2 separate regions of the Homo sapiens genome follow, and region 2 is linked to region 1. The links are contacts of gene promoters, found by promoter capture Hi-C in human tissues and cell types (Jung and others, 2019). All regions are on one chromosome and are shown on one strand. The core of a region is centred on a gene start or on the middle of the fragment in contact, and the rest is flanking DNA. Distances in the headings are between cores, read along the strand shown. Region 1 holds the start of RCAN1 (regulator of calcineurin 1). Region 2 overlaps MRPS6 (mitochondrial ribosomal protein S6).

Region 1 (4,111 bases), core at 1,387-3,886:
ACTCCATCTAAAGTGGCTCCCTACTAACTCCTCTGTGTAAGTCCCCTTTATCCACACTGTCCCCAGAGCCATTATCTACCCTTCTGTGGGCCCTGAAAGGATGACCCAACCTATGGACTCCACTGCAGGGGCTCCCTTGCCTCCTAGCTGTCCTTTGAGTTCTGCCAATGAAATCAGAAGCCTGAGAATTTCTTCCCTGCCTGTACCCTGCCTTAGCATCTCAACTCCACACCTTCAAGTCTACAGCTCCTGGCAGGCAGCTCCTCCCCTAGGTTTCCAGCCACGTGACTTCCTCCCCCAGCTCCAGCTTCCAGCTGTTGCTCATGGCTGCAGGCCTGGACATCCCTTGTTAGTTCCCTCAGGACTGCCCCAATTCACCAGCTCTTCAACAAAACCCCCACAGTGTTAGGACCTGACCACTCTGACCAAGCCCCCTCCCCTTGCTCTCTATCCCTGTTTCAGTCTCTTCATCGCATTTATCACTATCCGAAATGATCTTGTTCACTTGCCTTTTTCCTATTGTCTATCTCCCCCTCAACCACTGGATCCTAAGCTCCATGAAAGCAAGGAGCTTGAAATGTTCCCTGCTTTATCCTCTGGGCCTAAACCAGTGGCTGGAACACAGTAAGCACTCAATAGACAGCAAAGCCTGAATGAACCAATGCTACATTGTCTCTGCTCAAAATATCACCATATCAGTAAGACCTTCCCTGATCATCTTATGGAAAATAGCAATCTCCCCTCCACTCCCAGATCTCCACTCCCTCCTCCTGCCCTCCAAGTCTTATTTTTTCCTATAGCATCATTACTTTCTGATACATTTGATATTTCTTTATTGCTTGTTTCCCTTCCAAAAAATGTCAACCCTGGAGGCAGAAATGCTATTTTATTTACTGATGCAGCCTCAGAGCCTAGGACAGTACCTATCCCGTAGCGAAGTCTCAATAAATATTTGTTAAAATGAATAGCTAGCGAAGTGGGCAAACTTTCATACAACACAATTTCAGGATTGTATCCAACACTGGAAAAAATTGTCTCCAACACTACAAGTAAGTGCCGTCTTACGTGACTTGACCTTGTTCTAGCAGAAAGACAGCCTAGAACTCCTAAGGAAAAGGTCTGAAATGCTGGCTAGCGCTTAGTTTATATGGAGAGGAAAAGGTTTTAGAGTAAGATCAATCAGTAAGACCCTGAGTTCCTGACAATTGCTGCTCTAGAAAGCATGCCTGGAAGCTTACCTAAGCACACGGCCATTGTAATTCCTTTCAGAAAGTAAGTGAACATATAAATTATAAATAAATGACACTTACATACACCATTCTGTTTCACAGTGGTGTTGTATTGGCAGCAGCCTTCAACTATAGTTCATTGACAGCATTTGTGGACCCACAGCCAAGCGCTGAAAGCACTGCTTTTTTTGACAGCTGCTCTCCTAATGGGGCATCTCTCAAAGACCGGTTTCATTCTGTGACGCCCACGTTGTCCACATTTTATTCTGCACAATAACTGCAGATTTGAAATAAATTCTTCCTCCCCACCACCATTATTGATTACTCATACCTGCCCCTCACCCTCCAAAGTGTCTAAATTGTGTGGATTTTGCGGGGGTGGGGGGAGGCGGGGGAAGGAGTCGACTCCCCATGTACTGGGTGTCCCCGATGGCGGCAAGCCACACCTTCACACAAGGGGGCAAGGTTCTTGACTAAATATCCTAAAGGTCTGAAAGATGGTCCCCTTCCCCCCAACACAATTCCACCAAAACTGGCCAGCCGCTGGCTAATGAGCAACCACGGATCCTCACCCAAACATTGGCTTTTCTTCCAATAGTGCAGATTGGGAATGCAGGGACGTCGTCCTATTTATGAACACTGAGTCACGTCGCCGCTCAATGTCTGTTTCCTCCTCCCTAGGAATGAGGTGACCCCCTCCTCCAGCGAGTAAATGCGGGGCGATGGCGAGAGCGCAGGGGGCGGCGGCGCTGCCCCACCTTGGGGAGCGAATTCACCCCCCTAGTCGCACCAGCCTGGGCGCACACGGGGGCCGGGGCGAGCCTGTGGGACTCTGCAGTGAGCTCCGCGCGCCCCGGGGGTGCTAGGGGACCGGGACCCTCGGGGCGCCGTCCCCACGCCCCAGCCCTGACGGGTCCGCGGCCGAGCAGCCCGGGGGACGTCGCTGCCTCCCCGCCCCGCGCGCGGCCGGGACTGGGCGCTGCGACCCGCGCCGCCTCCTCGGGCAACAAGTGTCCGCCCTCCGCCCCGACGGCCCGCCCGGCGCGGTCCTCACCCGGCACAGGCCGTCCACGAACACGCGCGGGTCCAGGTGACAGGCGATGGTGGCGCTGGGCAGGTCCTGCAGGTCCACCTCCTCCATCTCGCAGTCAATGAAGCTCCAGTCGCCGCCGCCCTCGTCCGCCTCGGCCGCCCCCGAGAGGGGCGCGAAGGGCCGCAGCGTCACCCCGGGCCGCGCTCGCGCCTCGGCCGCCTCCGCCGCCTCCGCCGCGGCCCCGAGCTGGGGACCGGCCACGCCGTCCTCCATCCCCGCGCCCGCGCGACCCTGTGCGCCCCAGCGGGCTGCTCCGGGCTTGCGCGCCGGAGCCTCACGCGCTCCGGTCCGCGCCCGGCCGGCGGCTCCGCCGTTAACCCCCTCGGAATCGCGCGGCGGCAGGCGGCGGGCTGTCAGCAGTCTCCCAGCGACACGGCCTCCCAGCGCCAGCCCCGCCCGTCACCGTTCCGCGCGGGAGGGGCAGAAGCCCGGCGCGGCGACCGCCCCCCCAGCCCCTAGGGCCGGCCACCGGCAGATCCAACGGTGGCCCCTTTAAGGCCGGCGCCGGTTGGGTTATTGTACCCCGCCCTTCCAGGAGACGGGGCCAATAAAGGAACGGAATTCTCTTCACGTGACCTTCCTTCTGCCGCCCGAAGCCCGAAGCCTCAGGGCGGCCATGTTGGTTAGGGGCAAAGTCCTCGTCCCCAGTTCCGCTTTTCTGACAGCTGGTGCCAGCTGAAGGACGCCGGGCAGAGTCCTCGGCTCTTGGGCCCTTGGGGTGATAACTGGGGAGGCAACGTTTTTGTGGTTCCCATGCGGGGACGTTTTGAAGCACAGGGGCCCACTTTTGGGAATTTAAGCGAGACATAGTCTCCCTGTGGCTCTGTGGCCCCTGGCAAGTGGTTAGATGCTTACCGTATATTATCAGATATAGTCGCAATAAAGACTGAACTAGACCATGATAACAATGCCTTACTTTTCTATTTCAGCGTATTAGTCACTATACCATTGTGAAAATTTATGTAATTAGAAGTAATTTTTCTGAATTACCATTATATGCTATGTACAATAGGACATAACGAAAGAATTAAGAGATCACCCCTTTCCTTTGGGGAATAGCGGAAAAATAAGAGGACCTCAAGTGAGCAGACATGTCTCTTCCTGAAAAATAGAATTCTTTTTTGGACAGTATGATACAGTGAGAACTTGGGTCTGAATTTCAGCTTTGCTTTTTAACTACTTGTACAAATAAGCTGAATCTTAGTTTCCTCATCTGAAAAAAATGAAGACATATTACTAAGAATTCAGTCAGTGCTTAATAAATGGTAGCTGTTTATGCACTGGGTTCTTTGGAGGTTGTGAAATTACAGTTATATTTTTTCTTAGAGTAGGCTTACTCTCTAGTTAGGAAGTGTTAGTAATTATAACAAAAAGTATATCCAACAGCTGAGATTTATTCAGAACTTGCCATGTGCACGGTTCTATGATTACTATTATCATAGTCTTAGGACAGTTTGTGTCCTCAGGGAGCTAAACCCAAGAGGAATAATAATACCCATCTAGAGATAACTCATAAAATAGAATATGATATGAGGATGTGAAGAAATTGGAACCGTCATACTGTGAAAGGGAAATCTTGGGCCCCCAAAATCACTAAGGAAAACTAAAGCTGGAAGTTGCTTAGAGCCAACCAGCCTCCCATTCCATTCAAAGTCACCCCTCTGCTCACTGAGACAGATGCATTTCACCGAGACAGATTTGCCTCCTTTATAAAGACTAATCAGAAACCCAAAGAGTGTAACCGTTTGTCTATCACCTATCTGTGACCTGGAAGCTCCCTCCTGCCTCC
Region 2 (3,822 bases), core at 640-3,139, 500 kb before region 1:
ATTTCTCAAAATATTAAAAATAGGATGACCATATGATCCAGCAGTCTTACTACTGGATAAATGGAATAAAATCAGCATCGAAGAGGTGTCTGTATTCCTGTGTTCGTTGCAACACTATTCACAATAGCTGAGATGTGGATCAACCTAAGTGTCCATCAGTGGATGAATGGATAAAGTATGGCATACATACACAATAGAATACTCTTCAGCCATAAAAAAGGAAATCCTGTGCAACAACATGGATGAGCCTAGAGGACATTATGTGAAGTGAAATAAGCCAGACACAGAAAGACAACATATGATTTCCCTCATATGTGGCATCTGAAAAAGTAGCTGAATCTTGATGCATGTTTTTATTCCTATAATTCCTTTGTGTTTGTGTCCTTTCTCTTCCCTGCTCTACAGAATAGAGCAGTCCATCAGGTGCCTTCCTCCCACCACTTGAATTTAAGCATCACTGCAGTTGGCCTAGTTGATGGACATGCTTTTTGTCTGTTGTTGAGCAAATTATGCAAATCTGACTTTTTTGTCAAAGTCCATGTTTGTCATTCTAGGAATGTATGATTTTAAGAACTTCTCTTAACCCAGTCCACCAGGTGATATTTTTGCTAAACCTTACATGGATATGTAGAAGATTCATTTTCTTATAAACCTTTTGTCTCTACCATCTAAATCTTTGGTTGACTGTTCCCTCCCCTGGTTTTCTTGTCACTCCAGTGCTGTCTCCCTTCTACCCTGTGAAGAGGTTGAAATATAAGGCGAAGGCAGGGAACTGAATTGTGCATGAAGGCATGCAATCAATAAGGCAGGTGGCTCAGTAATGCCTACCTGATTCCTGCTCCCACTATCCATTTCACAAGCTTAGGCATTTCCTTTACTTGCTGTCATAGTAACCAGGACTCCTGCCAGTCTTCCCGTTTATCTTTTATCTGTGAGTGCATCTGAAGGGGGATGGGGAGTATAGAAATGGAAACCTCTCAGCAAGAGGATCATGGACTTTAAAATGTCCTTAGAATAGCAAGTAGGGTACCTTCATTTTGGCATTGTTTCTAGCTGATGCAGTAGTATTTACCACAAATAGTCACCCACTGGGGTTGTCATTTTTCCATTTCACATTCAGACAAGACTCCAATATTATTGGTGAGAAAGAGTGAAACTTTTATGTTCCTTAAATTAGTGTTGGAGAAGATCATTGCTTAAAATCTTTTACAAACTGCAATTCAGCCAGAGTCATTCATCTTTGGGAGGATGAGAAGCCAGCTAGCTTCCTACTAGAGTGCGGTTCTCACATTTGTTTGCACCTGGGGAGCTTTAAAAAAATCTTAGTGTCCAGGATTTTTGAATCCTTAAGCCAATTGAATTGAAATATCTGAGGGTAAGATGCAGACACCTTTATTTTTAAAGCTCCCAGGTGATTCAAGTGCTGAGAAATACCTTGGTGATTTCTGCCCTTTTCCTTTGACTTACCCAAATCATGAAAGGAATGATTGATTATATGCAAGTGAGCCCCCAAATTTGTCCTTAAATGAATGACATCTGAATGATATTCTTTGATTTGAAACCTCAGAAATTAGTTGATTAAGGAACAAAGGTACATTATTATTGAACTAGAGATTAATGTTAACCAAGGCACATGACTAACTAATATATAGCTGACAACTAGTAAGTTCACACAAGGTTGGATCTCCTATAATTATGTCTTCCCTTCTGCTCAGTGGGTTCATTTTTTAAATTTATTCGCTCATAGCCTTTTGATTCCAATGCTGGTATTGATGGCTTAGCAGGCACTTGGTGCAGGGGCCCCTTGGATGGGTAAGTGTAGTTTATGACTTAAAGGCATTTTGCCTACCTTGCAGCTCAAGTTGCTTTACTCCTCAGTCATCTGCTTTTTACGTTTGCAAATTCAGCCATGCATTATCTCACTGAGAAGATAACAATGCCTCTGCCTTGTTCTTGGGTCCTTCGTTTTGGCCCAGGATTAATGTGTGCTGAACTCAGATCAGTTACTGGACCAGTCATTGGCTTCTTGCTCCTGTTTTCTTTTTAACCTCCATTCTTCTCTGAGTTCTTTTTGTTTTCATCACATTGCCCAAAGAGTACTTCTTAATGTTGGATTTCCCAGGTCTCAAGAGTCTTATTCCTGGCTGCATGGCCATAGAATGGGCAGGCTCCTGTTTCCACATCCCTTGGCTTCATTGACCACTGTGGTGTCAGGGCCAGACTTGGTCTTGTCCTATCACGTCTTTTTGGTGCACTCTGATTCTGGGACCAGTACTTCTGGATTCCAGTTTTTCCTCTCATTCCCCAAGAGACAGAGTAACCAGTTGTAATAATTAATGATGCTGGAAGTACCAGCTTGCAAGACTCTTTCAGTAACCTCTGGAAGCCACCTGTTTATACCTCTCTGATTATTACTATATTGTTAAAAGCCTGGATGGACACGGAGTCAGTGAATGAGTTTTCAGTGTCCAAGTGTAGATCTGGGACTTGAAGACAGAATTTACAAATTATGGTATCTGTGGCAAGATAGCGGTTGGGATAGACTTGGGAGAAGAAATTCTTTAAAGGAAAAATTGAATTTGTTGCAAAAGAAGTTTGTCACTGAAACACGTTTTAATTGCTCATCGTAAATCAGAGTGTAAAAGAAAAAAAAATGGAATACTCCACTTGTTTTGCTACCTAGGGAAGACTAATACCTTGCATAGTCATCCGTTCTTTTTTCCATGTTTGTCTACATAGTCCTTTTTTTTTTTTTGGAAGATACATGGATGTACTCTCCATGCTGATTTTATTTTATTATTAAAATGTTTTTATGCCAGTATGTAAGGATCATACCCCATCCCAACCCCGACAGGGTTTCACTCTGTTACCCAGGATGGAGTGTGGTGCCACAGTCATGGCTCACTGCAGCCTCATCTTCCCTAGCCTCAAGCAATCCTCCTATCTTAGCTTCCTGAGTAGCTGGGTCTACAGGTGTGTCCCACCATGCCCAGCTAATTTTGTGTGTGTGTGTGTGTGTGTGTGTGTGTGTGTGTGTGTATGTGTGTTTTGTAGAGATGGGATTTAACCATGTTGCTCAGGCTGGTCTCGAACTCCTGGGCTCAAGCGATCTGCCTGCTTCAGCCTCTCAATCATCCATGTTTTTTTTTTTTTTTTTAATTTCTATAGGTGTTTTTGGGAACAGGTGGTGTTTGGTTACATTAATAAGTTCTTTAGTGGTGATTTCTGAAATCTTGGTGGATTTTTAAATGGTTGTATCGTACTTATTCAATCAGTGGAAATCGTTTATTGAACCAGTCTCCATTGGGCAATAAGATTTCCATTCATTCACTATCCTAATAACTTTATGATGAGCATTTTTCATAGCTAAGTCTGGTACATGGGTATGGTAGTTTGCTTAAATTCCTAGAATGCTGGGTGTGTCCTGCAGACCCTGGCTACGGATGAAATGAGTACTCAGACACAGGTATGCAGTGTAAGAGCAGCTAGTTGACTGCCTGGCTCTAGTGGCCAGAGCAGCCCCAAGAAGCTGGAGCTGCTTGGTTTTATTCAGTGCCGGCACAATGCTGAAAACATGGAGCAAACACAACCTGTAGGTAATTAACATTTATTGCCCCCCTTTCAGAGAACCTCATGCGAGAGGATGATCAAAGATCAGTTCCTGGTCAGCATAAGTAAACAAGCCTCTTTAAGATAAATTCCCCTACACTCCCTTGTACCTACTCCTTGGCCTCTGCCTCAGGGTTATAGAACAGCTGCCTTCAGCTCTTCTCCCCTGGGGCTCTGCAGAACCTTCCGACCTTTCAGAAGGTTTAGGTCCTT

Evidence for each region. The method cuts DNA at HindIII sites, captures the fragments that hold promoters and counts their contacts. A contact is called where the count stands out against the background at its distance.
Region 2: a fragment that was not itself captured here is called in contact with the fragment with the promoter of RCAN1 in region 1 in 1 of the 25 tissues and cell types used here (dorsolateral prefrontal cortex).

The regions. Positions count from the first base shown.
Region 1 is chr21:34,612,477-34,616,587 of GRCh38, forward strand. It overlaps RCAN1 (regulator of calcineurin 1), which reads right to left and starts at 2,637. Exons shown (of 4, transcript NM_004414.7): 1 at 2,284-2,637. The coding sequence starts at 2,535. RefSeq lists silencers at 2,152-2,251, 2,442-2,871. The HindIII fragment of the contact is 10,572 bases long and covers 145-4,111 here.
Region 2 is chr21:34,113,179-34,117,000 of GRCh38, forward strand. The region is part of intron 1 of MRPS6 (mitochondrial ribosomal protein S6); the gene reads left to right. Among named protein-coding and RNA genes, the nearest start is that of SLC5A3, 42 kb to the left of the region's middle. The HindIII fragment of the contact is 5,215 bases long and covers 1-3,822 here.